Linked DNA regions of Homo sapiens: regions 1, 2, 4, 5, 6 and 7 are each linked to region 3. The links are contacts of gene promoters, found by promoter capture Hi-C in blood cells and fetal thymus (Javierre and others, 2016). All regions are on one chromosome and are shown on one strand. Each heading gives the region's core, a stretch centred on a gene start or on the middle of the fragment in contact. The rest is flanking DNA. Distances are from core to core; before and after follow the strand shown.

Region 1 (4,198 bases), core at 1,102-3,601, about 19 Mb before region 3:
GAGAAATACCTAATGTAGACGACAGGTTAATGGGTGCAGTAAACCACCATGGCACATGTATACCTATGTAACAAACTTGCACGTTCTGCACATGTACCCCAGAACTTAAAGTATACATATAAAAAAAAAAGATTAAAGTTTGAGAAGAGTCAATGTAAGTAGTTGGGAAGCTAGTACAGTAGCTGTACTAGGATTCTAGTGGTGATGGAAAAGAATTGAAAAGATTGAAAGCGAATTCAAATTATTTTTCAGATACATTTCCTCCTTGAAGAAGTTAATTCATTTCTTCTGCCTATTTTCTGAGATGGTTTCTTTTAATTTCTATGAGGTATTTCCTATTAAGGGCATTAGCCCTTTGTCATATCTGCTGTATTTTTTTTTTCTAGTTGGTTGTCATTTCTTTTCTTTGGTAGGTTATTCAATTTTTATGTAGATAAATCTCTCTTTCCTTTTGTGGGTTTTTTTTCCCACTAATTTTAAATTATAATATCCTCCATCATCTCCACTTTTTTCTGTCCTTTTTATCTCCTTCACATTAGAACACACTAGACTTCAGTGGTGGATGTGTGTAGTTCCTGCTTTCACAAATTCATGTAATCACCTAGTAAACATATGTGCTACACATGATAGACACATAAACACAGGAAGACAGAAACAGTTACATAAGTGTTTCCAGAGGAGAAAGCAATCTGGGTGCACAAAGAACAGACACCTAACCCAGACCGAGAGGAGTTAATGAAGGTTTCCTAAAGGTCAAATTTTAACTGTTTTGAAGAAGAACAAAAGTTAGCTAAGTGTGAAAAGAGTCTTTAATGACTCATCCCCTGTCATTTCCATCATCAAAGTCATTACAAAATTTGATATGAAGCTCCCTGGGGTTGAAATCCCAGGGACATTACTCTGATCTTTCATACATCACAGGTAACCTAATGCAAAATAGCCCACCAAACGCTTTCTGGCACAAAGCACAAGCTTAATGTATGTTTATGAGTAAATAGTAACTACTTTCAGCTTCCCTCTTCAGCATATCCTGTACTCCACTGTCAACTGAAATCCTGACTCGTTAATCTGGCAGCAGAGAATATATTTCAGTTTTATTTCCTTCTTCATCTCACAAGTTCCCATCAGTGAAGAGTTACTTATCCCTGTATTACCCACGGGTTCTTCTGCTACTAGCCCTTTCCTGCTTATACCAGTCCCTCTGCCTGGAATGACTTCTTCCCCTTTCCTGAATCACTGACTGCAATTCCTGTGCAAGATCCCTAAAGACCAAGGACAAGTATCACCCATTTCATTTTGCCGCCTTTGGAAACTTTTCTGCATTACTAGGTTTTGGAGGCATTCTTCACACATTGTTCTGTAACACAGGTGAGTGTTGCTTAGCTCTCTTACTTGAGTATAGGTTACTAGAAAATATGAAATATCCCTTACACTACTGTGTGTAATCTAAACAGTGACTTGCTCATAAACGGGATAAAGAATTTCCTTTCTGTATCTAACTGTGAGGTCCTTACTCGATCCTTATGTTTCCAGCTTACTTTAAGACTTTGGATGACATTATTTTGTTGAATAGAAGCAGAAACCAGAGGGGGATAAGTGGTAGAAATGGTATTTTGTCGACACCGCACACTATGGAAGTGACGGTGGTGAGAACAAATGTCTGATGAGAATGGACTGAAAAAGCAGAAAAAAGAATTGAGGATAGCAAGTATAAACAGCTCTTTATTGAAGTTCTGCTGTAAACGGAAGCAAAGAAATAGGACACTAACTGGAAGAGGAAACGAAGTACTGAGCATACAGTCTCATTCAAGACCACCAATTTCTTAGAAGCTACAGCTCTTACTTTCTCTCTTTCATTTTCGACAGGCAATAAAGAGCAGGTAATGTGTACTGAAAGTTTATTAAGGGTCAGGCACTTGCAAATACTTTACGTATCTCAGTTAATCTCACAACCCTGGGACGAACTATCTTGAGTTCCGCTTTACAGACGAGAATATTGAACGTACAGGCTAAAGGTTCTTCCCAAAGTCCCACAGACATAAATTCGTGGGGCCTGACACATGTCTCTCACTTTAGTCACCTGGAGACCGAAAAGGGAAATTACCGGTTGCCAAACTCCAAGTTGCGGGAAACCCGCCTGGGCCCACCACGAAAGTTCCTCCAACCGCACCCTCTATGCCCGCCTCCGACCACGCGTCTCAAAAGAGCTGGTTTTGAGGACCCTTAAAGTCAGCCCCATAGGTTCCTCGGCGCTCACCTCGTTATTGAGGTTCAGAGTTCCCGGCTGAGCCATGGTAGATGAAGGAATATGATCCGCCGCTGCCTGCACGTGAACCGGTCTCTCAGACCGCGGCTGCGTCGCCACGCCCCTCAACGGAAGCCTCTTCTGTCCAAAACTCATCCGCCTTCTGCTCTAGCTGCCGCCTGGGAACAAGAAACATTGACGCTTGGAAGGGAAAACCGGAACTGAGACAGAACAACTACCGGCGCAGAGGGCTACGCAACGGAATTGCGCGTTCCTATGGAAACCAGACGGGGGCTGGTAGCTGGGCAACGTCTAGTTTTTCAAGATTCGGTTTGTGTGTGTGTGTGTGTGTGTGTGTGTGTGTGTGTGTGTGTGTGTGTGTTCCCTTGGTACACTGCGCTCGCATTGTACCGGCCTTGGTTTTTCTCTCTAATGGCTAGGGGGGCGCTGAACGGCGGTGAAAGAGCTCTTCTGAAATGATCACTTGAATGAACGATTTTTTGCTTCCATTTTTTTAAATCTAGTATTTGTGAAGATTTCTGCTTTTCTAACAAGCACACCTTTTTAAATCCTCGCAGTTTTTTGTTACAACCTGACATTATAGCTGAGGTGCGGACATTTTTTTCCTGCACACTATAGAAGGGTTTAAATTTAGGGAATAAACATTTGAAGCAAAACCAGGATACACATTTGGTACTGCCTGTGGGAATGGCTGTTTATTAGCCGGCAAGCATAGGAGACGTAAGGGAGTGTGTTTGAATTAGGTAATATATAATTGTCAACACCTTCTAGTATTGACCATTAAAATGTGTCAAATGGTGGTCCAAGAGCTTTACATAAATTAGCTCCAAATCTCCACAGAAATCCAACAAGATAGAAATTATTTTCCTTTTATTAATATTATTTTGTTAGAGACCCAGTCTCTCTTTGTCATCCAGGCTGGTGTGCAGTGGCACAGTCATAGCTCACTGCAGCCTCAAACTCTTGGGCTCAAGCCATCCTCTCACCTCAGCCTTCCAAATAACTAGGACTACAGGAGTGAGCCACCCTACTCTGCTCTGAACTATTATTTTACAGATGTGGAAAGTGACTTCAGAGGCACCAAGTGCCTCGCCCAGAGTCACTTGCCTGGGACTGTCCACTGCTACAGGACTTCAAGTCCAGCTACATAATACCTGGGGTACAGTGCAAAATGAAAATCCAGGCCCCTTTATTCAAAATGCAGGAAAAACGTTTCTTCCGGCGGAGGGTGGTGGCTCATGCCTGTAATCCCAGTACTTTAGGAAGCCTAGGCGGGCGGATCACCTGAGGTCGGGAGTTCGAGACCAGCCTGACCAACGTGGAGAAACCCCGTCTCTACTAAAAATACAAAATTAGCCGACCGTGGTGACGCATGCTTGTAATCCCAGCTACTCGGGAGGCTGAGGCAGGAGAATCACTTGAACCTGGGAGGCGGAGGTTGCCGTGAGCCAAGATCACTCCAGACTGGGCAACAAGAGTGAAACTTCGTCTCAAAAAAAAAAAAAAGTTTCTTCCATAGCGTCTCTTGACTCATCATGGTGTTTGTTAATTTACTATTTAATACGATGCTCCCTAAAGCACAGAGACATTAGGTTGTCAGGGCAGACCCTCAAAGGTGCCTGAGACCCCTGCCCCAAGACTCAGGTAGGAGTGTATACACTGGAGCAAGGTGGCAGCAGTTGCTGGGTGGAGACAGGAGAGCAGGAAACCAGAGAATCCACCTGAGGAGCTTTTGGGGACAGGACCACACATGACCTGAGACAACAAGGCCTTGGCACATGTTCCATTATCCCACTAGACTTCACTTACAAAACTCAAATTCAAAAAGGAAATCACTAATAATTTCAAGACTGTGCCCAAAGCTTAGTTAACCAAGGCCCACTTCTGAGCCTTTGCCGAAGAAACCAGCCTTGTCCAGAACCCATGCTGTTA
Region 2 (4,102 bases), core at 139-2,638, about 13 Mb after region 3:
TTATTTAAAATAATGTTCTCCTATAACTTGGTCTGTATCTTAAAATTTTAACATATAGTTTTTTTCAATATCATTATGTTCTAGTAACTACAATTTCTCTTTCCTTTTAGACTCAAAGGTGATTTATAAAGGTACTTTAAAATTTAAAATACGAACAAAATAAAAGTTCCACTTTTGTTTTTTAGGGGTGCTATCCCTTAGCTAATTTTTAGCTTATTCTATCATACTATCTTTCCTTGTGCAAATTTAGCCCATCCTTCTAGGTCTAACGTTTATGTCACCTCCTTTAAGAAGCATATCTTGTGTTCTCTCCCTTCTCTAAAATTTTATATACATCCCTTAAACATATAATGTTTATATATTCTCCGCCTTCAACTCCCATCCTCAGGCTATTTTATTCACGTTTATGAGATTTGCTGTTTAGCTCAGTATTTTGTGGATTTTCAAAAGATTCCACTCAATTTACCGAGCACCTACGCACCAGACATTTTATTAGGTACAAGGAAAAGCGTTAAATAGATATAATCACGGCCTCCAAGAAATTGAACCTAGTAAGAGACACGAATAAGCAGACATTCAAGTGAGCTTTAGGAGACTTGGTTTGGTAGTGAAGACAGTCTCATGTGTGTTAACAGCTTACAGCACTGAAAAATAAGAGACAGAAGGGAACAAATCCGTTTCAAACAGTTCAAAGGAGGAAAGAGAGGGAAAGGTGGTTTAGATACAGCTAAATCATAAATAGCCTGATAATCTAACCCTGTGATAATCCAAGTACAGCCACAGCACCTGCCTCAGAATCACTTGGAAGGCTTGTGAGGAGTAAAAACGCAGATTCATACCTACTGAAATTAGAATGGAGAAACGGACATTTAAGTCTGCATTTTAAACACATTCCCCAGGTACTGAGGCCATTCCAAGTTTTAGAACAGAGCACAGCCAATTTTCGCAGACCTTGTTCCTCAAGTACTCCCTCCTTCTAGCCGGAGGGTGGCCTGCAGCATGTCCCTTCCCTTCCCACCGCCGAAGCTGTCCATCCAGTTTCTGAATGGCGGCCCACAGACCGCACGGCTTTACGAGAGAGGAACACAGCGCCCACCCGCCAAACAGCCACACAGGGATCGGAGGCCGGACCCGCAAAGGATTCGGGGAAAAACGCATCGAGCCAATCCGAAGGGCGAGAGCGGCCCTAGATTGGGGGGGCGGGGGGGCGTTAGGAGGTGGGCGGGGCACAGAAAAAAAATTTTTTTTTCCTTGATTGACGTAAAACCTACCCAATGAAAATAGAACTGGTAAAGCTTCCGCCCCCTAATAGGCAGAACCATAGCGACATTTCAACCAATCCAGCTCAAAAGTGTCTATGTTGTGGGAGGTCCCTGAGGCCGCTGAGGTCGTTCGTGTCTGTTGAACGGCTGTGGGCGTCTTGCTGCCTTGGGTAGGGGGTTAAAATCGTTCTTGAGAGGAACGTCTCTGTGCGAAGAGATAATGAGTTTAGCTCTGAGGTCGGTAATAAGGAGGCGGCAGTGCTCTCCACACCCCGGAGCGGGGCCCAGGGAGGGTGTGTGTGGAAGGGAGGACGTTTGGGGCCGAGGCGAGGCAGGGGATGTAGTTTGGGACGCGGGAAAGGAGCCTAGGGCAGCCTGCCCGGATCACTCACCCTCTGGGCTCTGATGCCCTGCAGGGAACGAGACCAGTGCATTTCTGCTAAGGAGGTTATTTCTGTCAGCGCGTAGGGCTTTGGACTGCCAGAAGGTTGGGCTTAGTTGCGAGCGAGGTGGGAATGAAATATCGCGAGGCTTCTACTCTTGTTTCTCAGATCAGGTCGCGGACATCCCTTCATTCATCCGTGTGCCTGGTCAGGGCCCCACCTCGGCTGCTCCGCTGCTAATGCAATCACCCACCTATAAATTTTGGAAATAACAAAAACTCTTTCCTCTTCTCCCAGGGCCCTGCTTTACGGTGTAATTGGAGACCCATTTTAGTGACTTTAATTGGCAGTCTGTCTCTTGGATTTCCTAAATTTCTTGCATTTTTTTACCTTTCAGTTCTAACCTCTAACCCTCTGTTGCCCTCTCCCACTATGTAGACGTTGTACCGTAAAACTATCCATACACTTACGACACTCCGAAAATATTCCATGTTCTGCTAAGGGATAATCATGGTACCCTTGGATGGGGTCAGGGGTGGGTCGGTTCTGGACTTGGCCTCCAAAAGTCTCAGGAAGGAAAAGACTGACCCCAGGAATACCCAAGTTTGTGTCAAGTCAGGTCTCATGAAAGGAAGATCTTCCTCAGCTTTGTTATACTGCACCTACTAGTCACTTCCTAGCTTTTTTTTTTTTTTTTTGGAGCTTTCAGAGACCAAAACGACTTTCAAATGCAACTAGATAGGTGTTTTAAGTACAGTCAACTGGTTTGACATGTTAATGTGTTACCGGATTGTGTTTCAAAACTCGTTATTCCAGTGTTGCGGCTCCATTTGAAAATTTGGAGCACATTTAGATGGGCAGCTCTTAAGGAAAACATTTCTGGCTTTAAAATAATTTTTGCTTTTTTTCTTTAAGCGTTTCCAGAGTTTATGAGAAGTTAACCTCCGGTTTACATGTTAAATGAGACAAGACTCATCACATTTTTATATAGAATGAAGCACAAACATTGTATATTGGCATCTAATATTTGTCATATGTTTAGACTCATTAATATTTTCGATGGTTTGTTAATATCAATGGAGGAAATGACACATAAATTGCCAAACTGTTAAAAACGTGTAATCTAAAAACATTTTGAACCAACAGTGCTAAAATACTGTATAAGTTAATTCACTTTTTTTTTGTAATTTTATGAACATAATTATCAGAACTATCAACAGTAAACCGATATATAGTGATTGTCAGTTATGAATTTTGGTTTCATTTGGAGATTTTTTTTAAATTCTTTAACATTCTTGTAGGATAACGTGTTTTTGTTTTTTTGGTTGGAGTTGGTTGGAGTTTCAGACATAAAAGTAGTGTTGCTTATTCACAGTTCTTGTTTCTTCCACAGTAACATTAGTGGGAATAAATAAAAAGCTGGGAAAAAGAAAAGTTTGGTCCTCATTTCTTTTAATAATCTGTAACACTCTTTAGTTTTGCGAAGTTCAGATTTATAGCAATTTAGACTATGGAATAAACAGGTCATTGACTCATAAAGGGAAAGTTTCCCTATCTTTCTCCAAAGTACTTTCTTTTTTGAAATTTAGAAGGTAATTATTGGCTAATTTCTGTTAGTAAAGAGAATTAAAGTGGACTAAGGGCTTTTTCTTTCCATTTCATAGAAGTGAGCTTGTAGTGGACAAAACAAAGAGGAAAAAAAGAAGAGAACTGTCTGAGGAACAGAAACAAGAAATTAAAGATGCTTTTGAACTATTTGATACAGACAAAGATGAAGCAATAGATTATCATGAATTAAAGGTAATGGTATACTTTAAAATATTTGTTTCTGTGTTAAAATGATTTGCATTTTTACAGTTGCTTTACATTACATTTCTAAATAATTATTTTAACTAAATTGGTTTTGGAACTATGAAGGCATTTTAAGCATTCATAGTTAGATGCTGTAATAAAACTGAAGAGAACTCCTAACATAGTTTTTAGAAAATCTTTTTCACATGAGAAAACGAATAGTATTTTAAATGTAAAAATACATTCCCAGGGAAGGTGCTTATTTTTCACTGTCATAATTAAAGGATTTCAAACTGGAATTTATTCTTACCATCTTCTTTTCACTGTTTTTTGTTTTTGTTTTTGTTTCTTGGTGACTCATACTGTTTTCAGACTGTGGGAGTGTTGTCTTTTAATCTTATAATTTGGATTTGTTAGTAACATAGTCTCAATCCACTTTCTCTGGTGCAAACAACTTTAGTGCTGTTTGATGTTGACACATGCTAATAGGTAAAAATGTCAGCTTTAAGACCTAGAATGTCAAAGTGTAGGGAGAGATTTGTAAATTATTATTTGTCAGGGTATAAGGAGAGATTTGGGTTTAGGGTAGAATGGGACTTACTTTCAGCACAGTGGGAAAGATAGTATTTTGAGATTTTTAATGGCCTTAATGGATAGGTGAATGTA
Region 3 (3,789 bases), core at 480-2,979:
TTCATAGCACTTATTTGGGTAATCAACAGATGTTCTACCAATTGTTCAGTTTAATACCCTCACAACAACTACTCTGAAAGTCATATGAATTTAACATTTAAAACAGCAACCTTTGATTTTAAAATTTTCTGCAAATCAGTTTAGTCATTTGCTTTAAATAAACCTGTGCTGCAGTAAGTACAGTATTCTGGGTTCTGCACTACTTAATTCTGCATCACAATGCTCCATAAAGACAGAGATCATGTCTAACTTTTGTCAGACATATAAGTAGGTACACCAAAATTTTTTAAATGAATGGATACTTTCAGACACTGAAAATGTTAGTGAAGAAATTGAAATCGAGGAAGAACAGGACAGGACAATAGAATACAGATTTTGAAGGCAGACAGATCTGGTTTTTAACACAGATTCAAACGTTTACTTATAACAAATGTTTAATAGAGCAAGTTGCTTGACTGTTCAAAGCCTCCATTTCTAACTCTGTAAAATGGTGATAATAATCTAACATACCTCCTGGAATTGTTGAGAGGAATAAATGACAAACTATGTAAAGCACTCGGCACACATAAGACTCAGTTAATGGCAACTATCGTTATTATTTTATCTATCTGAGACAAAAAAATTATCTATTTCATTTAAGAATTCTCAATAGCAAAACAAAATCCTGTCCCAGTGTAGAGCGAGGATTTTACGTGCTAAGGTCAGCTATGCTTCCCACTTCCACAGTTAAGCCTTCCAGCAAGACAACTACTAGCCAAAGGACACCAAGAGTCGCAATCTCCCAGGAAGTGGTCAAGAACCTCGTGAATGAGATCCAGGGATCATCACCCTGGCCCCTTCTTCTTCAAGGCGCAGAAGGCTGCAACGACCTCCAAATGACTAGGTGCGGCAGTGCCCTGCAGCCTCGGTCCCTACTATGAAAAGCTGCAACACATGAGGCTTTTGTTATTTTAAAGTGGGTGTGGGGTTGACAGAGAGAGGGATAAAGACTAAGGCAGAAAATTTTTTAAAAAGCCACCTCTACCCACAGCAGTCCCATAACTCGAGGCTAATCACTTCAGTGGAGCCAGGCACAGCGTGGGGTAGAAGCTCAGCGGTTCCCTTTTAGCTGATCTTCAATTTCTGGCGTCTCGAACCCAAGAAATGAAAAAGGGAAGCCATGGGGGAGCAGGAGGAGAAATCAAGGCGCGAAAGGACCCTCAAAGCTGTACTGTCACTCCACGCCCAGGCTGTCATTCTCTCCAGCACAAGCCCCTCGGTGGAGCATGTGTTTAGGGTCTGCAGAGCACAGGAGACAAAGCAGAAGCCCAGCAGCCGCCTCAACCCTGGCATGATCAGGTTCCGCATCTCCGGTTCTCCTCCGGTTTTGGGCCCTCACCTGCCACGAATGCGGTCGTCACGCGAGCAGTTGTGAGATGGTCAAGCCCATTCAGGTCTAGGTTACCCCCTTTCATCCCGGAGGCAGGGGTGAGGTGTTTGTCAAGAGACTTCAGTTGTAGGCGTGGACGTAGGCTACTTCCTTCAGTAACAGCTATAGGGCCACATAAGGGAACCTCAGGCTACTACACCTCAGGAATCTCCGTCACGCCTCTTCCCCGCCCTCCTCGGGTCTCACGCCGAAACCTCACCGGGCGGAACGATTTCCGGCAAGAGCCAAATGATCAGTCCTAACCTTTCTGACCGTGGTTCCAAGGTTCCCCAAAGGACTGCCCTCTAAAGGACCCGGGTAGTTCCGCTTCCGGCAGCGCGAGATAAATCACGAGAGGAAGCTTAAATCTGTCGTTTGAATTTAGGACCACCTCGGTGAGTGGTCGTTCTGGTGTGCTGTGTCATACCTACTGTTTTTTAAAGTGAGGCGTAACCCGACAGTAATTTCAAAACCATTCGCCTCGACCGGCCTAAGGAAGGGTTTAATTGAGTCTGTGGGGAGATTTTGCGCAAGCGCCTTTGAGATAGGAGGGCCTTGGGCGTTGCGATGTCCCGCGCTAGCTGAGCAGAAAGGGCGAGTGCTGTTTCGGGCCTGGGGAGGTGCCTACTGGGTGTAATTGAGTTTTACCAAACGGTCATTTTCCTGCTGATTCTGAGTGTGGTTGGACCTTGCCCTTAAGATTCCGTTAACGAGTCGCCCAAAGCTTAGGAAATGCTCCCTCACAGCGTTTGAGACTAAGCACTTTTGGCCGGCGTTGAAGAATTCTCCCCATTACTTTGATCAGTCATTTAATCAGAAATTTTGCCCCAAATTTAAATACGTGGCGGGGAGAAACGTGAGGTCAAGAGGGAATCCTGTCACGTAGTTTTAAAAGAAAAATGTCCACTTTATCTCAGTGTAGGTTTTTCTTAAATGGGCATTTCTGAACCAAAGTAGATACTTTTTAAAGTGGAAATGCATTTATCCCATGTGGCTTCATGTGAATGCATATGGCGATGAAGGCATTTTTTTGTTCAATGAATTTGTACTCTGAAGTGAACCAGATTACAGAGAAGTGTATTTAAATTTACAGGTCCTTGACGTTGCATAAAATTGTGCGTGTCCATTTTTTGGAGCTTAAAATAGAATAATTCAAATGTCAGAATTCCGATCCAAGTTAACATGTTGATTGAAAATTGCAGATTTTAAGATGGAACCAGCGGGTATTATAACCTTTTAGGGGCTTAAATTGGTGGCTTTGTTTTTAACCCTTGGTGAAACAGTTAAGTCCTAATCTTGACATAATACCTAACTGCCTTACTTTATTGAACACAAAATTATTAAAGGAATTAAGCAATGAGTTGATTTTATTTGCTTTTATGGAGGGGACAAAGTGTATAAAGCTTAACCAAATGTGACCCTGACATTCCTCTTGCAAAACTACAAGTTGTAATCAATCACTTTCATTTTTTCTTATTCCTACATGTTTAAGTACATTAAGTAATGATTTTAAGAGAAATTCTTGAAAATATGAGCATATCCAAAGAAGTCCCAGGACAGTCTTTCTTTATGTAGTAGAAACCACTTAATCCCCCTTGTAAATGATACCTTTACTTAGCAATCAGAGTATAAGAAGATATTTATATTTGTCTCGAATATTACAGTTTCAAGCCATTTTCTCATATGTATGGGCTTTGAAAAAAAAAAAACAACTTTCATTTACGTTACTTTTGTATATGAATACCAATTATTAGCAGTAAAACTTTTAACTACTTCAAAGGCTATGCTTTTCGTGAACTGAGTTTTCTTTCTTACGCATTTTCTATTTCTCCTTGTCATCTGTCTCTCTACCTCCAGAACCAGCAGTTTGTGAACTGCATTAGACTGTTATATCGTTATAAAAGGATACAATTCGTGAGTCTTCTGATTATTTTCTTCTTAGCACTGAAGCTTTATAAACATTGCTATAAAACATTAACACCATTAATGAAAGGAAAGAGATTTTAAAATATTTTTTCATGTAGGTGAAGATTTTGGGAAAAGAAAGGGTTTTATGTTACTTTAAACAGCCTGATATGGATGATAATACTTAGATATGATAATAATTATACATTACCATATACAAAGGACTTTTAATCATCCTCGTAATTGCAAAAAAGGGATAGATATTATGTCCTTTTCCAAACATAGATACTAAGGCTTAAGTCTATACCTTCTTAGACACAGTTTACTTATAGTGCCATGTATGTGAAAGTGAACTGTAATGTTTTCAAAAGTGAAATAATTTACCTCTGGAATATTTGCTATAATTTTTAATTCTCCTTTCAGGAAATGCAGGTAATTCTTTATTCATTCACAAATAGTTGAGTGTCCACTGTGTT
Region 4 (3,992 bases), core at 1,382-3,881, about 12 Mb after region 3:
AGAATAAAAAGAAATTGCTGTGTCCTGAGTCATGTCCCTCCTGGTAAATAAAATTTATGGGAAGCCATTATTTTGGACTGAGGTCCCATAGTAGGGCCCAATAGACCAAACCACATAATCAAGCTAAAACCTTAAGGAAGCAGATAAATCCCCAAACACACCAGTTTTTCTTGAAAACAAGAGGTTCACTCACAGCCATCACTTGGAAAAGACCCAGTCAACTTGAGTCACCCTAATAAGGAAGTCCTTCTGCTTTAAACCTTATAAGAAAAGTAACCTGAAGTAACCTGATGTTAACCATTCTGCTTTTTTCTATATTTGTTTCCTTGTTCTCATATAAAAACTAACTGTTGCAATGAGTGCTGATCATGCCACTGTACTCCAGCCTGGACAACAGAGTGAGACCCTTTCTCAAAAAAAGCAAAAAACAAAAAAGTAACTGTTTTGCTAAACCCAGTAGAGCACTCATTATTTTATAGAATAAAATGCTGCCTGATTCTAGAATCCCAAATAAAAGCCAGTTTGATCTTTAAATTTGTTTTAATTTTGTCTTTTAACACCGTCAAAAGTCATATATTGAAGCCTAAAACCCGCCCCTTCTCTCTCTCCTCACCACCCTGTGTGTACACAAAGAAGAGATCATTTGAGCATCCACCTGCAAGCGAAGAGAAGAGGCTTTAGAATGAAACCTTCCTTGCTGGCACCCTGATCTTTCCAATCTCCAGAACTGTGAGAAGTATATCTCTATTGCTTAAGCCACACAGTCTGTGGTACTTTGTTATGGCAGCCCAAGCTGAGTAAGACAAATACTATTTCAAGAAAGTGACTTATTACTGGGTGCGGTGGCTCACACCTGTAATCCTAGCACGTTGGGGGTTGGAGACAGGCAGATACTTGAGATCAGGAGTTCAAGACCAGCCTGGCCAACATGGTGAAACCCCACCTCTACTAAAAATACAAAAAATTAGCTGGGGGTGGTGGTGTGTGCCTGTCCTAGCTACTTGGGAGGCTGAGGCAGGAGAATTACTTGAACCCAGGAGGCAGAGGTTGCAGTGAGCTGAGATCATGTCACTGCACTCCAGCCTGGACAACAGAGCAAGACCCCATCAAAAAAAAGAAAAAGAAAAAAAGAAAATGACTTAGTGACTTATCTCTTATGAGCTGCTTGGGGAAGTTGATGGGAGATTGGTCACTAACTTCTATCAACAGCTAAGCTCATCAGCCTTATATCTGGACAGAACCAAATTTCTGTCTCAGCTAAATAATGCATTCCTGTATGGCAAAGGGGCAATAGTACAATAGTATATCCTCTCTGCCCAGTGACTGCTATGGTACTTTGTCAAGGAGCTCTCTCCGAGGATGGGAGAAAAGCGTTCTTGCCTGGTTGTTTTGCATCACCTACCACTTTTCTGGCCAACTGATGATTGTAGGGCATTCCTTTTATTTAGATTTCCTTTATTTCTTTCATCTCTCCACTCATAATCAAAGAACATTAAGTACTTGCTCAGGTGTTTTAGACTCTTGTCTAAGGATCTTGCCCAAGGTCACTGTATTAGTCTGTTTTCACACTCTATATATAAAGAAATACTTGAGACTGAGTAATTTATAAGAAAAAAAAGAGGTTTAATTGACTCACAGTTTCACATGGCTGGGTGGGGGGCCTCAGGAAACTTACAATCATGGCAGAAAGTGAAGGGGAAGCGAGGACCTTTTTCAGAAAGTGGAACGAAAGAGAAGAATGAAGGAGGGGCTACCAAACACTTATAAAACCATCAGATCTCATGAGAACTCACTATCACGAGAACAGCATGGGGGAAACTGACTCCATGGTCCAATCCCCTCCCTCCCTCGATACATGGGGATTACAGGTCCCTCCCTTGACACGTGGGGATTACAAATCGAGATGAGATTTGGGTGGGGACACAGAGCCAAACCATATCAGTCACTGAACCACTACGTTTGTGATGTACATTCCCAAAGCTTTTATTAGTTCTAGGATCTGGACAAAGTACCTGTACTACCTCTTTGTGATCTGATCAATAGTTTAGTCAAGTTCAATAATACTGATAACACAATACAAGCTTCGTTTACTGAGAAATTTTTTGCATGGAAATGTGCTAAACCTTTTATAGGCATCATCTCATTTAATCCTGCCTGCTTTGCAAACAGGTGAAATGGTGATTATAATCTCCATTATAGGCTTAGAGAAGCTAAGTATCAAGTCCAAGTTCACACCGTCATAAGATGAATTTGGGTTTTTGAACTGAAGTCTGACTTGGTAAATGCCAAGGCAATATCCATATGGATATGCTAAGAATAATGAATCAGAATCAGGCACAGTTTTTAAAACATCAAATGATGTATGTAATTACTTAAAATCTTAAATTTTTATGCAATAATTTGACTTTTTTTTTAAGGCTAGCGCATTAAGTATACCTCCCATTACAACTAGTTCAAGTATATGAGATTCCATTTCTGGTCCATATTACTCATTTTGCTTTCTTGGGCTCTGATCCTCTCTCGTATTTTCATGTTTCCTATTTGTATTTGTTTGGGGCTTTTCTCTCCTTTACAAAATTGGGTAGTCATGCTTCTCCAGTAACCTTGGTGAGTCAGTTCAACCTCTAATTACTTCAGTCTCCTTGCCTGCAAGAAAAGCAGTCAAACTACACGAACACTCTATTGTTTTGCATCATTTCACACGTACACAGGGATAAGGAGGGAAATAATTCTCCCAATGAAGCAGAACCACCGGTAACAGCTGGCACAACTTCTAAAGACCCAGTCTGTCTTGAAAAACAGCCGCAAATTGTCCCTAAATAATAATTACCCCACCTGTATCAGGACTATCTCACTGACTAGCTGCACTTCATGACACAATACCTGCTATTAACTCTCAGCATGGATATAAACATTGCCATAATATTTTTTAAAACCAACAATGTATCATTTGCACATTAGGACAACAGAATGTTAGTTAAGGCACAGAAAACACAAAGGCATGGCTACCCTGTTCTTTGGTGACTCCATATCTAATTATTACCACACATGTCTCCAGTCTTTAGACAAATTTAGTTATTATAAGGGTGGTTGGACAAATAGCAAAGATTTGATTTTCATTAACAAAGGGCACATCAGAACCGAGTTAATCCTTCCCAGTTACCCAACATTCAAAGCTTCTAGTGCAGTCACTTTCTAGTCATTTTAGAACCCAGAGCAGTGTGACGATTTGATGCTTAAGTTTCAACACGTTTTATTAATCCATTCTTCTTGTGCTTCATTTAAAATATTGGAAACTATAAAAAGATCAGCGTGTTAATCCTCTGCCAGGAAACGGGAAAAAAAAGTTAAAAACCTAACAACAACACGAAAAGAGCAAGAGCGCTGGAATCTCAGCTTTGAGGAAACACATGGGATGAAAGCATCCGCCCAAGCTCTAACCATTTGTCACATGGGACTCTTCCCCTCGGGGGTGAATCCTGGATGTCCCCAGGATGGAGCGAGGAGGTCGTGCGTGCGGGCGAGTGTGTGACTGCAGGGGGCCTTGGCGGCGCGAGGAGGCGACGCCGCCCCCTCCCTCAGGCGCAGGGAGGGTCTTCCAGGAAGCGGCGGATCTCTGCTGACTCCGCGGCTGCGGGCCCCGGGCTGCGGCCGCCCAGGCCGGCACGTAGCGCCGAGCGTGACTCAGCGCTGACTCATCCGACTCGCTGCCAGTGGATTTCCCCCGTCAGCTGCTCGCGCTACTCCTGTCGCCGGGAGCTCGCAGGACTTCGCAGATACCGCTGCCTCCTTAGTCTTTCCTGAATAGCAGAGCAGTCCTGTCGCTTTAAACAGAGCAAGGCAGCTTTCACTGCTTTTGAATCCCGACCGAGCGGGGCACTGCCGTGCTTTGTTTTCTTTGCCTTTAAGAGTGCAATAGTCCACTAATCAAATTCTTTCATCAAAAGAGTGTTGGGACAAATCCCTGACATCGTCCTTCCACTGTGATTTGG
Region 5 (3,903 bases), core at 710-3,209, about 12 Mb after region 3:
GGGTTTCCTTTAACATGAGTGAATTGGAAGTTGCTAGTCGAATAATAACCACTTTATACTTAGTTTATTATCAATTATCATTATGAGAAAAGATAGACCCTATCAAGTCTTAGTAGCTTCAATTTATAAAAAATTCTATATTCTACTTTTTCTGCTAATACTAACCAATAGCAGTAAGTTTCGAAAATAAAAATAATTAGGAATATCCTAACTTTAGAAATGTTTTTCTTCTGATATGAACTTAATAGCTTCTGTACAAAGAACTATTGGGAAGGTCACACAAGAGATATGACCCAGGCTTAAAAGGAAACATGCATCAAGGATACATTAATATAAAACTTGGAATCTAGTAAGAAAGGAAAAAGGAAAGTGGTATATTCTTAAAGTAATGACAGATTGTTGGAAGAGATGATACAAACTTTTTAAAAAAAAATGCCTTTTAACAAATATTAAAACCTGCAAAATGGCACTTGTGGTGATTATTCTGGAGAATAAACAGATTACATAAGATTTTGTCAGGTGACAAATGTACATTAATTCTGCATTTGTTAATTCTAGTGCTTGAGATGTTATATATAGAGAGAGAAGTCATAAATGGTATTTTTTAGAAAATTCTATTTACTGTATTATTTGAGAATTTTATTTGGAATATAATGCCCTCATCTAATTTCTGAGAAAAATATTAAAGTCTGTTGATAGAATAAGGCCAATATGGGGCCTGAGTATTTTCAGCGTCATTTAATGTTAAAGTTCTATCCATAAACCAAAGTCATTTAACATAAATTTTGGATAACTATTAGCATACAGTTTAAGATTTTATTTCTCTGCTATACAAGTTAATGTGGGAGTCTAAAATGCAAAAAAAAAAAAAAATTATGAAAACACCAGTGTTTCTTATGCTAATCTAAGCTAGCACTCTTGTAAATAACTGAACATTGAGTATTTTACTAATGAAATTATGAAAAAGATACTGAACTTGCTAAAATAAAACCTTCCACAAGTAAAATCTGACAGAGTTAAAAAAAATTTTTTTTTATTCTCTTGACATAGATCAAGAGGACTATATCTTTTTCTTTTGAAGCCCGTAAAGTTAGAGAACAGCCAAACAAGAATTAGAACATGAGTAAACTGAGAGATACAAAAGTAGTTTTTCAGTAAACTTAGGAAATGTGAAATTTTTGAAACTATAATGACTATTCCAGGCCTTTTCTAGACCTTAGTTAGTTGCTATTAAAAGATGATAATTCCCGGCTAATGAGAAGTGGAGTACTATAGGGAATTTGGTCTGAATGTTTAACCAGTGTCTAGAATTTATCAGTAGAAATAGTTAAACCATTCTCAACTTTGTGTTTGAATTCTTGGCCTTTTCAAAAAATGCCCATTAAACTTTCATGATTTTGCCACCATCATTAAAAGTAGCCTCCTCTTAGTTTAAATGGATTGTATTCTTCTGGCTTTTTAAAGCAAAATTTTAAAGATATTTATTGTTTATTCTTAGTTGGAAATAGGAAGTTTTTTCCCCAGTGACTTATCCCTTTGGAAATTTTTTAAATTATATGTTTGATACCTCATTGGAACATAAACAATACAATATATTAACACTTCTATTCTGACCTACTGTGTAATTGTTAGAAAGAGGTATAAAATTAATATATTGACCTTTATATTCTGCACAGACCACTCGCTACCTCATTCGAAGGCCGACATGGCAGTGTGCGCTATTGGGTGAAAGCCGAATTGCACAGGCCTTGGCTACTACCAGTAAAATTAAAGAAGGAATTTACAGTCTTTGAGCATATAGATATCAACACTCCTTCATTACTGGTAAGAATTGACTGAATTATTTATTCTTTGTTTTTGGCATATAAATATTAAAGAATAATCAATCACCTAAACTATGCAGTTGTCATAATTTAAAAATACTGGTTTTCTTTTAAAATTTCATAAATATACATTTTCTTAAATACAGTCAAGAACACTGAAATTAATGAAAAATATGCTCATATTTTTGACATTGTAGTATACCTTTAAGTAAATATAAAACTAAGACCAGTATATGATATGAAGTATCTCTTACTCAGAGTATGACAGCCATAACAAAAAACAGATCTGGTCCTTGGATGATTTGAGTGGAAGAAGAGCAGTAGTATCTTTTATTATAATACAATATCACTTACTTGACAATATCATAATCTAAAATTTGTACTATACTTTGTTATTCCAATAGAGGGATAGTTGTCAAATAATGGGGAATCATTAGTTTCATTAAAAAACTCCTTTTTTAAAGAAATCTATTTTTAATTGCATTTGTCTGAAAATAATTCAAATTTGACTTAAAACTTTATTTGATTTAAACAAATGGTAACATCTTTAAAGCACATAAGAAATGGGCATTTTCCTTTTTTACATATTGATTTTTTAATAGTCTCAGAGAAAGATGTTAACATTTGGAATTATAATCAGATTGCTTTCTTTGCTGCCTTTTTAAGGCAGTTTAAATGGAATGTGGAAAGGGTTTTTTTTATTTGGTTGGTTTTTGATTACTATATTTGTAAATAGTGTGAGCTAAAAAACTATGTTTATGGGATAGGCTGTAAACCCTTTACCTTTTTTTTCTAATTGAATGGAAATTTATATGAAAATAAAAGTAATGGTATAATTCAAAACCATCGGTTAGTTAAAAAATAAGAAGTATGTCTGGATACAAAAAAAAAGCAAAACCAGTTGTAATTTTTAATTTTCCATAAATTTAGGGTTATATTTTAAAATATTCTGGTATTGATTGTACCAATCCATACACTGACCTTTTTCTCTTAATTTTTTTCTTACAGTCACCCCAAGCAGGCACAAAAGAAAAGACACTCTGTTGCTGGTTCTGTACCTCAGGCCCAATATCCTTAAGTGCCAAAATTGAAAGGAAGGGCTATACCCCAGGTATGTAAGAGGTAGATTCCCACAAAAAACTTTTCTTCACTTAGCTTTTGTGTTTAAATTTATAATATGACTACTAAATATAAACATAATATAGTATTCTTTTGTGAAATAACAAATTGTGCTTATCCATTTGTTTTTTTCACAAAGTAGAATGTAGTTTCCTTTTTCAAATAGCTACTGATTAGTTCATTTCTATGACTCAAGTTATTTGCAGTTCCTGGGACATCTTTTCATGTATGTTAGTTGCACTTTCTTACTTTAGCTTTAAGAATCTTGACTTCTTTTGTTGTTTTTTTCTAACAGTAGATATGTATATATTTTTCCCTCTCTAGGTGAATCAATTCAGATATTTGCTGAGATTGAGAACTGCTCTTCCCGAATGGTGGTGCCAAAGGCAGCCATTTACCAAACACAGGCCTTCTATGCCAAAGGGAAAATGAAGGAAGTAAAACAGCTTGTGGCTAACTTGCGTGGGGAATCCTTATCATCTGGAAAGACAGAGACGTGGAATGGCAAGTTGCTGAAAATTCCACCAGTTTCTCCCTCTATCCTCGACTGTAGTATAATCCGCGTGGAATATTCACTAATGGTATGTACACATTTAAGAGGTTTTTTCCTTTCTTTTTTCTTTTTTGAAACACCTGTCACCCAGGCTGGAATGCAGTGGCACAGTCTCAGCTCCGCTACAGCCTCTGCTTTCTGGGCTCCAGTGATCCTCCCACCTCAGCTCCCAAGTAGTTGGGACTACAGGTGTGCCTATAGCCATGCCTGGATAATTTTTGTATTTTTTGTAGTGATGGAGTTTGACCATGTCGCCCAGGTTGGTCTTGAACTCCTGGGCTCAAGTGATCCATCCACCATGGCCTCCCAAAATGTTGGAATTATAGGCATGAGCCACAGTGCCTGGCCCAAGAGGTTTTTGGTGTTTTTTTTTGTTTTGTTTTTAAGTCTTAAAGTTATGACATAGTT
Region 6 (3,977 bases), core at 890-3,389, about 17 Mb after region 3:
AGGAGCACTAGAAGGGTTTTATCTTCAGGGATTTTTCACAACTTAAACAAGTATTGTAAGCCAATTTAAAAACTAGGAGCACAGTGACCACTTTCTAAAAGAAATGGAAATGTTTATAGTGTTTTAAAAGACACATTCTCAGCTACTGTTCTAGTAACAGTGTTCAAGATAGAGTAACATTAATCAGTTTATCAGTTTTACCTGGTTAAAAGTGTGAGTTCTGCAACAAGAAACTGCCTGGGCAAGAGTCCTGGTCCACCATTATACTAGTTATGAGATGTTGAACAACTTAACATCTCTGTGTCTCAGATGGGGTTACTATCATCCGCCTCACAAGCTTGCTAGAGAACATGAGATATCGATGTAAAGTGTACCTGATAAGCAGTAGTATTCAATAAACACTGGCCATTATTGAAATATTTTTATATAGGTTTACAACTAGTCTCCACCAATGCCACATCTACACATAACCTCAGGAATCAGCCCTACACAACAATGTATTTGTGTGTGTGTTCTGGGTGATGGGGAAGAGGCTACTTAATAAAAAGGCCTGCTTTAACATGATTAGAAATCCACTAACTACCTGTTAAATGGAGGAACTGAAACATCCTTATGTTTTAAGCAGTTGGTGTCTTACTACAAGGAAGGGTGTAGCAAATGCAGATCCAAAGTACAAACACATCTTAGCTAGTAACGACCACTTGTTTTCCACTGAAAATGGCAAATTCTGTTGGAAAAAAAGAGAAAAAGTAATCGAAATTGAATCTCAAATCATCTGCTTAATAATCAAAATACAAGTATACAGGAAATGCTAGTTATATTTTACATCATCAGGTTAACATATGCCATAAATCATAACATCGTTTTAAACATTTATCTTTCAAATCCTATGACCTTCATCACAAAACACTACATGGCAAGAAATAATCTGGCTTTACTAAGCACTAGGCAATGAATGGTCTTGAGGACTCAAACGTCAAATAGTGAGAAGTTTCTTACTTTAGAAAATCGAAAAAACTACTGTCCTAAGTAGTCACCTTAGAAGATACATGGCAATGTTAAGTGCAATACAGCTCTTTTTTTTTCTTTTTTTTTTTTTTTGAGACGGAGTCCCGCTCTGTCCAGGCTGGAGTGCAGTGGCCCGATCTCGGCTCACTGCAACCTCCACCTCCCGGGTTCAAGCGATTCTCCTGCCTCAGCCTCCCGAGTAGCTGGGATTAGAGGCACACACCACCACGTCCGGCTAATTTTTTTGTACTTTTTAGTAGAGACAGGGTTTCGCCATGTTGGCCAGGCTGGTCTGGAACTCCTGACCTCAGGTGATCCGAACGCCTTAGCCTCCCGATTACAGGCGTGCGCCACCGCACCTGGCCCACAGTTTTTTTTGTTTGTTTGTTTTTCATTACCAAGCACCTTCTCTGGCCTTTATGACTAGGCCTCGTGTGACCCTCCGAGATTGTTACTGCTATGTGGTTTAAGTTATTTACACCTGAGGCCAAACCCAGCCTTAACTGAGGTGAAGGGTTAGTACTTCTAACTTAGGCAGCTAGTTTAAAAAGCCTGTTCCATAACCAGAGGCCCTGATTTCCTCATGATTTTCCAATGACCTTCATTTCGGGTCCGATGACCTCCAGCTCGGATTTAACCAACACACCTACAGCCGTGGCCTCCCGGAGCCATCTCAGGGCTTTCTGCGGGGCGGGGGAGGGGGCGTCAGGTGGCTGATGGAGGCAGGGCTTCCGGATCTACCTGCCCATTCCTTTAGCGGCTACGCGCTAGGATGCCCAGCTTCCTCACTGGTCCTTGGGCTAAGTGGAATGCTAGTCTGCGTCTCAGCCTGGTTTCTGGCTATCATCTCCCACGCCACAGCCCGGAGGCGGCCTTGCAGGTGCGCGAGTCACAGCCAAGCGCCCCCTCCCCCAACGAAGCCGTGCCCCTTACACACTAACCTTCCCAGGGCCCTCCTCATAGTGGCTCCTACGGACCACAGAGGTTGTGAACCTCCGGATGCTCTGGCCCAACATACCGCTGCTGGAAGCTCTGCGAAAGGCGCAGAGAATGAGGACAGATGAAATGGCGGCACCTCACCAAGACCTTTTTTTTCACGACCTTGTTCCCCGGTGCGCAAGGACTGAAAAGAAAGATGGGAAATGGGGCGGAGCCTTGAGGAAACGCGACAAAGCGGAAATCGCCCTGGATTGTGGGAATTGTAGTTCAGACCATTGCGGAGCCTTATCAGCCCCCGAAGGATTGTGGGAAATGTAGTTTCGCGCCAGGCTTAGGTCTAGGATTCCTGGGGCCTGTTACCGGAAACGATTTTATTGAATCAAGTGAAGCAGTTTCACCCCGTATACTCTAGTCTGTTGAAAAGGACAATAAACCCATCCCTTTTCTCTTCTTTCTTTCTTTTTTAAAAATAAAGTATATGCTAGGTGTCAATGATTTCGAGGACTTTTGCCAATGCTGAGAGATATGTGCTAATGATCCTAGCTGAAGAAACAAAGCATAAACACAAGTAATCAAACAACGTGCAGCACAAAGGACTTCAGAGAGAAAACTGAAATGCTAAGGGAATGATCACTAAAGATAATGGGAATCGAATAAAAAAGAAGGAAGAACAAAGGGCAGGGAAAACTCAAGTCTGGTATGAGTACAGCATGTGTGAGGAGTAGAAGGGAAAAGTGGCCTCTGACACCTGGAGCTAGCCTGGACTAGGAACTGGTGTCCGCCTGATGAACGTACACAATTTCAGCAAGCATTAGCATCCAACAAGACCACTCTGACAGTGTTCATTAAGAAAAGAATATGATCACTGTGTAATCACATCTGAACACAGATAAAACATTGTCCAAGCCACGAAAATGACCGGACATCACCCTATCTGGTTTAATTTGATGACTTCTGCTTCTTTACCAATTACAATCTTAGCCTTGATCTAGCCTTTCTTCCTCCTAAGATTTGGTAAGGTAGCCAATATTAGGAGAAAAAAATCCCAAATCCAATAAGCATTTTCTAATATTTTACAGAGAACCCTTACTGCAATGAATAATAAACCCCGTTTGTCAATTACATGTGTGCTTCTGGTGGTCTTTGACCAGAAGGTATTGAGAAGAAACCAGTGATAAATGAACCTGGGAAAGTGGTGTTAGGTTAGATTGTGAAAGGCCCTGGTAACCTAAATGTTATGTTATTCATCTGTGGGGGAGTGTATATTGCCTCACGTGTCTCATTTATATAGCATTAGGAAACAATTCCAATAAGACCTAAGGTTTGCTTTGAAAAGGGCATAACATATATGCTCTTTTCGTCTTTTTTTTTTTTTTTTTTTTCAGTTTTTGGAAGAGAACAACCATGCCCCTCCCCCCCAAAAAAACACTTAAAAAAAACACTTAAATTCATATTTTGTTTCAACAAGTAGCTTCTTTTTGAGTAGGGGTTCATGAAATGCATCATAACTGGTGTCCTCTACCACCTAATTTATAGAAGTTATGTGACATTCCATTTTTTTTTAACATTCCGTTCACTGCCTTTACATATTAAAGAATTCTGATTTAACTATAATTGAGAAACTTTTTCACACTTAATATTTCTAGATTACACTTTTCAATCTAGTGTGAGTAATGTTATCTGTGGATTTGGTTCATTGTTGCTTCTAATTCACATTAATTGAGCCTCCATTGGGTATCTGGCTTTGAGTTAACTCTTTAGGGACCTGCAGGGCAGAGATTCCAGAATATGGTTTCAGAACTGTCTGCCTTCTCATGGGCTTTGTGGTAAGTTAAATACAAAAAAAAAAAATATGTTTGGCCGGGCGCGGTGGCTCACGCCTGTAATCCCAGCACTTTGGGAGGCCAAGGCAGGCGGATCACGAGGTCAGGAGATTGAGACCATCCTGGCTAACACGGTGAAACCCCGTCTCTACTAAAAATACAAAAAATTAGCCGGGCGTGGTGTCGGGCGCCTGTAGTCCCAGCTAC
Region 7 (3,822 bases), core at 1,164-3,663, about 12 Mb before region 3:
TTTGTTACCCAGTCATTAGAAGTATACACTTTCTAATATAGATCAGTGTTTTAAATTTATAAAGAATTGGCAAAGATTGCTGAGCCTTTTATAACCCAGAGCAATGCCTGTAAGATTCTCAAATGTCTTTCCTTTTACAAATTGGGAAACATACAGCTATTGTGAAAGAGTTGGGAAATGAGACACCTTGACCATATTCCTTTACCAGCAGATCAATTTTAGGAAAGAACGTAGGTGTAAATTGAAGATTCAGAAACTGGTAGCCTTTTTTTTTTTTTTTTTTTGACAGAGTTTCCTTCTGTGGCCCAGGCTGCAGCACAGTGGTGTGATCATGGCTCACTATAGCCTTGATCTCCCCAGCTCAGCTCAGGTGATCCTGCCACCTCAGCCTCCTGCATGCCATGCCTGACTAATTTTTTGTGTGTGTGTGCGTGTGCGTGCATGTGTGTGTGCGTGTGTGTGGAGTTGGGATTTCACCATGTTGTCCAGGCTGGTCTCGACCTCTTGGGTTCAAGCAATCTGCCTGTCTCAGCCTCCGAAAGTTCTGGGATTACAGGTGTGAGCCACAGCAGAAATTGGTAGCCTTTAAACTAAGTGTCCGTCTATCCCTTAACAATCCCATGAGGGATACAGAGCTCAGTTTGAAGATGGCTGATGTGAATGTTTACATCTTATTGAATTAGGTGAGAGAGACAGGTCAGCTCAGGTTAGGCCTTGGTTGGGACACTGTACACTGTTATCTGTACCCTGGGAGAGTATAGAACTGTGACATATGCTGGGGATAAAACAGCCAGTCCTCTTGGCTGGTTAATTTTTATGGATGGTCAATCTTATCCTTTATACTCTATTCTTTTATATTTTCTTCTCAGTGGCAATTACCTTAACTTCAGTTTTGGGAATCTGATGTTGAGTGTAGTCTGATACTGACTACCTAAGGGAAATACTATGCTATACTTAAAAATTATTAAGACTGTAAAAACATAAGAAACGTTTAGAGTATAGAAAGGAAAAGCAAAATATATAGTTGTATGAAAATTATTTCAATTATGCAAAACTACATAAACTTCTGAACAACACTACAATATACAAAAATGAAGTTGTGATTTTTTATAAATGTTTTTAGTGCTGCATGACTTCTAACATAACGTTATGGATTACATATGCTGAGGGTCAGACTGCCTACTGTAATATTCTATTTCTCCTAGTGGTACTAAGGAATTATGTGAGCTTAAGTTCCCTCAAACAAAGTGATTGAAGGTCCATTTTCAAAAATTCTGTTTTCTCATCAGGATTCATTATGGGCGTTATTTCCCAAACACATTTAAACTTTTTCATCCTAGTTTAATGCAACGTAGGTTTTAGCATCAAATTCCAGAGGTTTATCAACTACTATATGAAGAAGTAATTCTTTTCATTCATATATATAACCTTTTAAGCTTTAGTTCCCGATTTATTACTCAGAGCTCAAGAACCTGACCTCATTGACTTTACATTGCTCTTAGGGTTTACCATTCCTCGTAGCCTTTATGCTTTTTAGAGGCTACTTTAGAAAGAGAGTCAGTTTGACAGCCTCCAAAACTAATCACATTTTCTGAAATTTCAGTTTCCTCCGTGTGTGTTCTGAGGTGTAATTACGAGCTTGGTAATTTCCAGGGCCCACCAAAGTAAGGACGGAAGACTAGTCCGAGAGACTTCACGTGTGTGAGGGTAATACTGGTCCGCACCCAAATTTGAATTTTAGCTCCCATGATTCCCACATATTGTGGGAGGGACCTAGTGGGAGATAATTGAATCAAGAAGGCTGTTTCCCCCATGCTGCTCTGGTGGTAGTGAGTACGTCTCAGGAGAGCTGATTGTTTTATATGGGGTTTCCCTTTTTCCTTGGCTCTGATTTTCCTCTCTTGCCTGCTGCCATGTAAGACGTGCCTTTCCCCTTCTGGCTTGATTGTGAGGCCTCCCCAGCCACGTGGAACTCTGAGTGCATTAAATCTTTTTATCTTTATAAATTACCCAATCTCGGGTATGTCTTTATCAGCAGCGTGAAAACGCACTAATACACTTCCCTTCTGGGGTCTCTGAGATGGGACCGAAAGATTCCCTAAGGGAGCACCCCGAAAATCCGAGAGGAGAAGAGCCAGCGAGATCTCAGAACTCGAGCTGCCTCGGGCCGCTTCGATGGGCACAGATCCGCCCCCTCGCAGCGCCCCGCCCCCCAGCGCGTTGCACGCAGGCACGTCCTCCCAGTAGTTCAGGCCCCGCCCCCTCCCCGTCGCCCCACCCCGGCCGCGACGCCCCGCCCCGCGCCTAGGCTGTTGCTGGCCGCGGCCGCCGCCCTCCCCCGGCCCAATGGCGTGGCGGCACAGTCAGTGATGTGACGCTCAGGCTTGTCCGGCCCCCGGCTCGCAGCCCATTACACCATCCGTCGCAGCAGTCGCTGCAGCCGCTGCAGTCCGAGCCGACTAAGGGCGGGAGGCAGCTCGGGTGGCGGGGCGTGGCGAACAGCGCGGCCGGATTCATTCCTTTGGGGCGCGGAGCATGGAGGAGCTGTGCGGCCGCAGGCGGAGCAGGGCGGCCCGGGCGGCGGTGGGGACAACGGTTTCCCTTTGAAGGGGACGGACAAAGCCCGAGTGACCAGCGGCGGCGGGGAGGACTAGTCCCCGGGCAGGTAGTGGCGGCGGCAGCGGCCTGCCAGGGCTCGGGCCGGGGCCTGAGGTGCCCGCGGAAGGCCTGGGCGGGAAGGAGGGCGCCGGGGGAGCCGAAGGCGGGCAGCGGGCTGGAGGCCACAGCTTGGCCCATCGGGAGGGGGTTGTGGTCGATGGAGGAGATTGGGAGGGGGCTGCCGTTGTCTGGAACAGGGAGAGGGGAAGGTTGTGTTGGGGCGACTGTGGTTTGAGGAACCTGCGGATCATCCCTTGGCGGGGGGTGGGGGGTGATCGAAATGGGGCGGGCGAAGTTAATGACTAAAAGGCAGGCGGATTTCCTGAGAGCCGTGAGTAGTTTTAAAGGAAAGAGAATCTTTCGGGGCACAGTTTTGGCCTTAGCCGGGGTTTGGTGTGTCCGACCTTTTTGTTCTTTCTCGAAACCCGGCCTCAGGCCTTCCAGCCTGGCGCCCTTGGCCAGCTCTCCTGCAGTTGCAAGAAAGAGAAACATTTCTGAACCCGAGTCTCCTGCCTCTTTCGGTTGTACTCTCCCTGGGCGTGTGCAAAGCAAAACTAGAACAAAGCTTGGCTGGTTAGAGCTGGAGGCGAGAAAACGGGCTGCCTGTAGTGTTTAAATTTTCCGCACATGGAGGAGACTGCCTGCGACCAGAACATTTGGGTCTCTGTGTATCCTTCTGTATTTTTCTTTACCACCTTTTCTTTGGGGGTGGGGGGGGTGTGTGGGATGGAGTAGTGCCTGAAGTATAGCTTTTATTCCTTTCTTCCCACAGAAGTGGAAATTAAGAAGTGTTTTGCCTTCTTCTATAGAAAATTAAATGCTGCTACTTTTTTTTTCTTTCTCTAGTTTGGTGCCCTGGTTGTCAGATGTTGGAAAGCAGTAGGACGGAACATACTCTTCGTGGTTGTGTATCCGTTCTGGGGTGCAGCAATTAACATTGGACTTTGGTTCCTGTGACTCTTGCCTGTGTCGATAGAGTTAAACTGGAGCTCTGCTTTGAAAGATAAATAAAGCACAGCCTCTCAACTGGACATAAATGGATCTAAAGACAGCAGTATTTAACGCAGCTCGGGATGGCAAACTCCGGCTTCTCACCAAATTGTTGGCAAGCAAATCCAAAGAGGAGGTTTCCTCCTTGATCTCTGAAAAAACAAATGGGGCCAC

What was found. Contacts are between HindIII fragments. The CHiCAGO score rates a contact against its expected background, and 5 or more counts as called.
Region 1: the fragment with the promoter of SRFBP1 here is called in contact with the fragment with the promoter of GIN1 in region 3 in 2 of 17 cell types (total B cells and fetal thymus); the score reaches 6.0 in total B cells.
Region 2: a contact is called between the fragment with the promoter of CETN3 here and the fragment with the promoter of GIN1 in region 3, in 1 of 17 cell types (non-activated CD4 T cells). The highest score is 7.1, in non-activated CD4 T cells.
Region 4: a fragment that was not itself captured here is called in contact with the fragment with the promoter of GIN1 in region 3 in 1 of 17 cell types (total CD4 T cells); the score reaches 9.2 in total CD4 T cells.
Region 5: a fragment that was not itself captured here is called in contact with the fragment with the promoter of GIN1 in region 3 in 1 of 17 cell types (non-activated CD4 T cells); the score reaches 6.8 in non-activated CD4 T cells.
Region 6: the fragment with the promoter of COX7C here is called in contact with the fragment with the promoter of GIN1 in region 3 in 2 of 17 cell types (total CD4 T cells and non-activated CD4 T cells); the score reaches 11.4 in total CD4 T cells.
Region 7: a contact is called between the fragment with the promoter of FEM1C here and the fragment with the promoter of GIN1 in region 3, in 5 of 17 cell types (fetal thymus, total CD4 T cells, non-activated CD4 T cells and 2 more). The highest score is 12.1, in fetal thymus.

The regions. Positions count from the first base shown.
Region 1 is chr5:121,960,128-121,964,325 of GRCh38, reverse strand. It overlaps SRFBP1 (serum response factor binding protein 1), which reads right to left and starts at 2,351. Exons shown (of 8, transcript NM_152546.3): 1 at 2,258-2,351. The coding sequence starts at 2,293. RefSeq lists enhancers at 2,366-2,415, 2,160-2,698. The HindIII fragment of the contact is 3,156 bases long and covers 975-4,130 here.
Region 2 is chr5:90,407,042-90,411,143 of GRCh38, reverse strand. CETN3 (centrin 3) reads left to right here and starts at 1,388. Exons shown (of 5, transcript NM_004365.4): 1 at 1,388-1,499; 2 at 3,310-3,445. The coding sequence starts at 1,483. It overlaps LOC731157 (a long non-coding RNA gene), which reads right to left and starts at 1,144. Exons shown (of 2, transcript NR_105024.1): 1 at 840-1,144; 2 at 475-644. RefSeq lists an enhancer at 1,419-1,618. The HindIII fragment of the contact is 6,726 bases long and covers 1,298-4,102 here.
Region 3 is chr5:103,118,078-103,121,866 of GRCh38, reverse strand. GIN1 (gypsy retrotransposon integrase 1) reads left to right here and starts at 1,729. Exons shown (of 8, transcript NM_017676.2): 1 at 1,729-1,803. It overlaps PPIP5K2 (diphosphoinositol pentakisphosphate kinase 2), which reads right to left and starts at 1,566. Exons shown (of 31, transcript NM_001276277.3): 1 at 1,379-1,566. RefSeq lists enhancers at 1,166-1,225, 1,276-1,465, 1,496-1,755, 1,591-2,091, 2,092-2,593. The HindIII fragment of the contact is 9,897 bases long and covers 1-1,771 here.
Region 4 is chr5:91,280,321-91,284,312 of GRCh38, reverse strand. No RefSeq gene overlaps it. Among named protein-coding and RNA genes, the nearest start is that of LUCAT1, 32 kb to the left of the region's middle. RefSeq lists enhancers at 2,912-3,853, 3,596-3,855, 3,854-3,992. The HindIII fragment of the contact is 1,095 bases long and covers 2,084-3,178 here.
Region 5 is chr5:91,374,542-91,378,444 of GRCh38, reverse strand. It overlaps ARRDC3 (arrestin domain containing 3), which reads left to right. Exons shown (of 8, transcript NM_020801.4): 3 at 1,677-1,824; 4 at 2,832-2,934; 5 at 3,267-3,523. Among named protein-coding and RNA genes, the nearest start is that of ARRDC3-AS1, 3.9 kb to the left of the region's middle. The HindIII fragment of the contact is 4,797 bases long and covers 1-3,903 here.
Region 6 is chr5:86,616,103-86,620,079 of GRCh38, reverse strand. It overlaps COX7C (cytochrome c oxidase subunit 7C), which reads right to left and starts at 2,139. Exons shown (of 3, transcript NM_001867.3): 1 at 1,950-2,139; 2 at 584-727. The coding sequence starts at 2,024. The coding sequence ends at 611. RefSeq lists enhancers at 1,049-1,714, 2,012-2,101, 2,034-2,328, 1,715-2,380, 2,392-2,471. The HindIII fragment of the contact is 5,230 bases long and covers 340-3,977 here.
Region 7 is chr5:115,543,366-115,547,187 of GRCh38, reverse strand. FEM1C (fem-1 homolog C) reads left to right here and starts at 2,413. Exons shown (of 3, transcript NM_020177.3): 1 at 2,413-2,665; 2 at 3,505-3,822. The coding sequence starts at 3,695. RefSeq lists silencers at 2,123-2,462, 2,563-2,612, 2,663-2,832 and enhancers at 2,262-2,556, 2,098-2,864. The HindIII fragment of the contact is 1,787 bases long and covers 1,439-3,225 here.